2 separate regions of the Homo sapiens genome follow, and region 2 is linked to region 1. Evidence: promoter capture Hi-C in human tissues and cell types (Jung and others, 2019). All regions are on one chromosome and are shown on one strand. The core of a region is centred on a gene start or on the middle of the fragment in contact, and the rest is flanking DNA. Distances in the headings are between cores, read along the strand shown. Region 1 overlaps LRP4 (LDL receptor related protein 4). Region 2 holds the start of DDB2 (damage specific DNA binding protein 2).

Region 1 (3,091 bases), core at 341-2,840:
CACTGCACCCTCGACCTACTAGGATCCTGAGTAGCTGAGACTACACGCATGAGCCATAACGCCTGGCTAGTTTTTTTCTTTTTTTTTGGTAGAGACTTCCTGTATTACCCAGGCTAGTCTCAAACTTCTGGCCTCAAACGATCCTTCTGCCTCAGCCTCCCAAAGTGTTGGGATTATAGGCACGAGCCACCATGCCCGGCCCAATATTACTGTCTAATCATAGTCCTTGCCCAATTTCACTACCAATTGCCTCAGTGATGTCCTTTATAGCTCCTCCCACCCCACTTTTTTTCTTTGTTAATCTAGGATCCAATCAGGATCACCCATTGTGTTTAGTAATTACGTCTCTTTTAATTTTTATTTATTTATTTATTTTTAGACACTCACTCCGTGGCCCAGGCAGGAGTGTAGTGCCACAAACATGGCCCACTGTAACTGCGACCTCCTGGCCCAAGGGATCCTCCCACGTAGCTGGGACCACAGGCACCTACTACTGCACCCTAGCTACTCAGGAGCCTACGGGTTTGAGGCCACTCGGCTGATTTTTTTATTTTTTGTAGAGATGGGGGTCTCACTTTGTTGTCTAGGCTAGTCTTGAACTCCTAGGCTCAAGCAATCCTCCTGCTTTGACCTCCCAAAGTGTTGGGTTTATAGGCATGAGCCACCACACATAGCTTTTTTTTTTTTTTTTTTTGAGACTGCAGTCTTGGTGTGTTGCCCATGCTGACCTGGGCTCAGGTGATCCTCCCATCTGAGGCTCCTGAGTAGCTGGAGCTGTGCGCCACCGGGCCCAACTAATCTAGTCTCTTTACTCTCTAATCTGGAACATTTCCTCAGCTTTTCTGTGACTTTATTGACATTTGCATTTTTTGTTTGTTTGTTTTGTTTTGAGACAAGAGTCTTGCTCTGTCGCCCAGACTGGCGTGCAATGGTGCGATCTCAGCTCACTGCAATCTCTGTCTCCCGGGTTCAAGCAATTCTCCTGCCTCAGCCTCCCAAGTAGCTGGGATTATAGGCACCCGCTACCACGCCCAGCTAATTTTTGTATTTTTAGTAGAGACAGGGTTTCGCCATGTTGGCCAGGCTAGTCTCGAACTCCTGACCTCAGGTGATCTGCCCACCTGGACCTCCCAAAGTGGACATTTGCATTTTTAAAGAGTAAAGGCCAGTTATTTTTTATAATGTCTCTCAACTTGGATTTATCTAATGTTTCCTTGTGATTGGATTCAGAGTGTGCATTTGCAGCAGGAATACTACACTAAGTGAAGTCATGTCCTTGAGTTCTCAGTGTGTCTCATCAGTAGACACAGGTGTTGGCCTGTTCCGTTATTGTGATACTTACTGCCATTGTATGGTTAAGGTAGTGTCCACTGTAAAGTTGCTATTTTTTAATTTTGTACTTAATAAGTAATTTGTCCAGAGATACTTTGAGATGATGTGAGTAATAGATGACTTCCAACATCTTCCAATAAAACCATCACACGACCCTTAGAGCCAGGCATGATCAAGTCACAGATTGATAGAGCAAGGCTCAGAGAGATTTTATAAGTAGCTCTTACTGGAGGTCACCCAGTAGGTGTTAGTGGGAGAGCTGCTTTCTGAGTCCACAGTGAGCTCTTTGCCACTGCTCTGTACTGTCAGACTTTGTTGAAGATGACACAGTGTTGGGGCCCTGGCAGGTGCTGATTGGAAGCCAGCTCCCCCACCCATTTGGGCTGACCCTCTATGGAGAGCGCATCTATTGGACTGACTGGCAGACCAAGAGCATACAGAGCGCTGACCGGCTGACAGGGCTGGACCGGGAGACTCTGCAGGAGAACCTGGAAAACCTAATGGACATCCATGTCTTCCACCGCCGCCGGCCCCCAGGTGAGCAGCCCTTGGCTCGCATTGGCTTCTCCGTGGCCCTCCTATGCCCTAGCTCTCCCCATTGAACATCCCCTCCTCTCTACCCAGTGTCTACACCATGTGCTATGGAGAATGGCGGCTGTAGCCACCTGTGTCTTAGGTCCCCAAATCCAAGCGGATTCAGCTGTACCTGCCCCACAGGCATCAACCTGCTGTCTGATGGCAAGACCTGCTCACCAGGTGAGTGAAAGCATCACAGATCTAGATGCAGCCTCTCTGGGAGGGGGCAATGGCTCTCTTCCTTCCTTGCAGATGGGCTCCAATGTGGTCTGAGAAACCATGAGTCCTGCTGCTTCTAGAGGCCCAGGGGAGAGACTCACGGCTTTTAGAAAAGGGGACGGGCCTGGGGAGAGGCCCTGGGGAGCAAGTAGAAAGGACTGGAGGCAGGGTCCAACTAGTTCTTATGATGTCTTCATGCATATTAGATAAAGATGCTCCTTTCTCAAGACACTTTCCTCTCATCTCTTAGTACATTGTCATAATATACTGATTTGGTTGGAATAAGACACTTCTGGCTGGGCACGGTGGCTCATGCCTGTAATCCTAGCACTTTGGGAGGCCAAGGCAGGCAAATCACTAGAGGTCAGGAGTTCAAGACCAACCTGGCCAACATGGTGAAACCTCGTCTCTACTGAAAATACAAAAATTAGCCAGGCATGGTGGCGCGTAATCCCAGCTACTTGGGAGGCTAAGGCAGAAGAATTGCTTGAACCTGGGAGGTGAAGGTTGCAGTGAGCAGAGATCACGCCACTGCACTCCAGCCTGGGTGACAGAGTGAGACTCTGTCTCAAAAAAAAAAAAAAAAAAAAAAAGACACTTCTAACTGCCCAAAATTGGTATAATAAAAACAGAAATGTATGATATCTACAATGTCACAGTACCCTCCTCCTTAGATGTGCCACTTTTGTGAGTGCACAACCTATGTGACAACCTTATTGGAGGGTCCCAGAAGCAGTACCTGGCTACCCAGATGTCGGAAGTCAAGGCTTCTCCCTAGGAGATGCTGCAGGGTAGGCTGCATTTGAACTCTAACCTCCCTGGGAATTTGAGTGAGAAAGGAGCTGTGAACTGTGCCTCTCAGGTTGTGAGTAAAGCCCCCTGGGGTCCCTTTATTCCCTTTCTTTTTTTCTCTTTCTTAATCTTCATGGTAAAGGGTCCTTCAAAGAGAGCCACTTTCATAATA
Region 2 (3,091 bases), core at 254-2,753, 340 kb before region 1:
TTACCTGCTGGACAGATGGCCAGGAAGCTCTGCCCAGCTTATGCTGGTGGAGGGTCCTGACGATGCTGCGGCATGGTGGCAGGATCTGTGGGCCAGCCAGCCCCACCCAGAGGCAGTCTGAGTCACATCTTCTGCTAGGACCTGCCAAGCAGAACAGACATATTTTCCTCTCCAATCTCACGAAAGGTTTTTCTGCTGAATTCCCCGAAAGGAAGCCTTGTTTCATTCGGCACGGTTAATCTCTGTCTCATCACCTCCTGCGGCCTTTCCATGTCTGTGTGGTCTCAACGAGCACCAGAAATAAAAAAATGAGTGAGGATTTGGCCCCTTCCCCAAAACACTCCCACAAACAGTAAGTCTGAAGTGAAAGTAAATACAGTCGTGCAGGGTTCCTGAGACCCCAGCCAAAGAAACACACAAGGATAAAGTACAATGCAGAACTCTTCCCAGTTTGGGCTGCAAAACTCGAGATGGGACTGGGTCACAATTTTATAAATCACATATAATGCACAATAAAAAGATTTTAGGGCAGCATGGCAGAAGTCACCGTTTAGGAAAAGAAGGAATAGGAAGGCCTGGAAATGCTCTTAACTAGGTTACTTCTGGGGAGGTAAGTGAAATTAGAATAGCAATAAAGCAACAACTCCTGATCACCAAACTGTATTTGAGGACCCAATCACTATAGGTCCGACGTCTTGACAACCAATTCTTTCTTCTCATGGACAAAAACCACTTGATTAACAAGCCCCAGCTCGTTTTTGAGTGTCTCGAAACTCCTTATAGCCCCAGGTTCAAGCCCCAGTAAACCTCAGAGAATGAGCTTTCTAAGGAGGAAGGAATTGGGGGCTCTCACAACTGACCACCGAGGACGTGCAGCTAACAAGCGTGACTATGAAATCCAGCACACACAGCGCCAGGAAAGGTAGGATTCTCTGAAGCCGTCCTAACTGTGCAAGAACCCTGATACGAACAAGGAATCTGACAAGTCCGTGTGTCTGTTGTTACGGAGCTCATCTGCTTCCTGTTACCTAGCGGGAGAGGTGTTGAAACCTAAACACTCTGGTGTCAAAGGACCTGCAGGTAGAATGCACAGCCGGAGGCACCCGTGACCTGCGCGGGCCTCGGGAGCCTCGGAGCACCCATCCCCCGCTGCAGCCTCCTGCGCGAGCACCCTAAAAGGCGGAAATATTCAAGCAGCAGGCACAGGCAGTACCGGAGCCCTTCGCACAGAGCTTCTTGGCCTCGGGCTCCAGCTCCAGGGGACTCCTGCTCCTCTTGTTCCTGGGGCGTAATACAATCTCGGAGGTCTTCTGGGTTTCTGGGCGTTTCTTGGGAGCCATCGCGTCCTCCGTGTGAAGGGGTACTGTGCTCTATGCGAAGATCATGGAGGGAGGATTGAGAGGCCTCTGGGGAGAAACAAGGCGGGGACTACAAAACTGCGGGGCCACAGGTAGCCGAGCTAAGCCAACTTCCCGCCAAACATGCCCAGGGCTTGTTCAAACCAGCTTGGAGCTCCGGCCCCACCCGTCTCGGAGACCCCGCCCCTTCCTGGAAGGCGGGGGCGCGGGGAGGGGGTGGTGCCAAGGGGCGGTGCCAGCGCTCCCGGGAGGGGCGGGAACTGCGCCAGGGCCAGTGCCAGCCCGGGTCAGCTGACCTCCCTGGAGCAAAGATGGTCCCCGGCTTTATGGATTTTTTTTTTTTTTTTAGCAACAGGGTCTGGCTCTGTCGCTCACTCTGGAGGGCAGTGGGGCGATCATAGCTCAGTGCAGCCTCCACCTCCTGGGCTCAAGCGATCCTCCCACCTCAGCCTCCTAAGTAGATGGGACTACAAGCGTACGCCACCACGCCCGGCTAATTTCTCTCTCTCTCTCTCTTTTTTTCTTTTTCTGGAGAGACGGGGTCTCGCTTTGTTGTCCGGGCCGGTCTTTAACTCCTGGGCTTAAGCGATCATCCAGCCTTGACTTCCTGACACGAACCCTCCTCAAACGCGGCGCTGCCAGGCCTCTGCGGGTCCGGGGAGGAGGCCCGGTGCCAGCCAAGGCTCTGTCTCCCGCCTTGCAATTGGTGATGACGCCCGCTCGGGCTTTGGGATTGGCTGGTCCCTACAGGGTGTAGTTGGGGAGTGGCGGCTTTGTAGAGAGCTAGTGCCTTTCCTAAGTTAGAAGCTGGGCTCTACCAGCGGTCAGCTTTGCAGTCGGATTCCAGAAACTACAGTCCCATCGAATCCAAGCTGCTTCTCTGTGAAGGGAGAATGATTGGAACTCCTTGCCTTTTTTTTTTTTTTTTTTTTTTTTTCCTAGAGGCAGTGTCTCTCTTCCGTTACCCAGGCTGGAGTGCAGTGATGTAATCACAGCTCACTGCAGCCTTGACCTCAAGTTTCACTGATCCTCCCACCTCAGCCTCCCAAGTAGGCTTGCAGACCTGTATCCCCAAGCCTAATTTTTTTATTTTTATTTTTGTAGAGACAAGGTCTTGCTATGTTTCCCACGTTGGTCTGGACCTCCTGGGCTCAAGTGATCCTCCTGCCTCTGCCTCCCAAAGTGCTGGGATTACAGGCATGAGCCACCGTGTCTGGTTCTCACTGCTCTTTTATTTGTTTGGTCGTTGGCTGTTTTTATTTTTTCTTTCTTTCTTTCTCTCTTTCTTTTTTTTTTTTTTTTTTTTGAGACAGGGCCTCTCTCTGTCACCCAGGCTGGAGTGCAGTGGCAGGATGTGGGCTCAATGCAGGCTGGACTTCCTGGACATCGATCCTCCCACCTCAGCCTCCCGAGTAGCTGGGACTACAGGTGCGCGCCGCAACACTCAGCTAATTTTTGCATTTTTTGTAGAGACAGAGTCTCCCTAAGTTGCCTAGGCTGGTCTAGAACTCCTGGCATCCATCCACCTCGGTCTGCCAAAGTGCTGAGATTACAGGTGTGAGCCACTGTGCCCAGCCTCCTCACTGCTTTTTTTTTTTTTTTTTTTTTGAGACGGAGTCTCACTCTGTTGCCCAGGCCGGAGTGCAGTGGCACAATCTCGGCTCACTGCAATCTCCGCCTCCCGGGTTCAAGCGATTCCCCTGCCTCAGTCTCCGGAGCAGCTGGGACTAGAG

Evidence for each region. Contacts are between HindIII fragments. The study calls those that stand out against the background at their distance.
Region 2: a contact is called between the fragment with the promoter of DDB2 here and a fragment that was not itself captured in region 1, in 1 of the 25 tissues and cell types used here (small bowel).

The regions. Positions count from the first base shown.
Region 1 is chr11:46,877,904-46,880,994 of GRCh38, reverse strand. LRP4 (LDL receptor related protein 4) reads left to right here. Exons shown (of 38, transcript NM_002334.4): 21 at 1,680-1,869; 22 at 1,957-2,088. Among named protein-coding and RNA genes, the nearest start is that of LRP4-AS1, 33 kb to the right of the region's middle. The HindIII fragment of the contact is 9,427 bases long and covers 1-3,091 here.
Region 2 is chr11:47,213,386-47,216,476 of GRCh38, reverse strand. DDB2 (damage specific DNA binding protein 2) reads right to left here and starts at 1,503. Exons shown (of 10, transcript NM_000107.3): 1 at 1,214-1,503; 2 at 5-141. The coding sequence starts at 1,340. RefSeq lists enhancers at 1,171-1,450, 740-1,939, 1,781-2,020, 1,227-2,062, 2,063-2,899 and a silencer at 1,501-1,710. The HindIII fragment of the contact is 25,797 bases long and covers 1-3,091 here.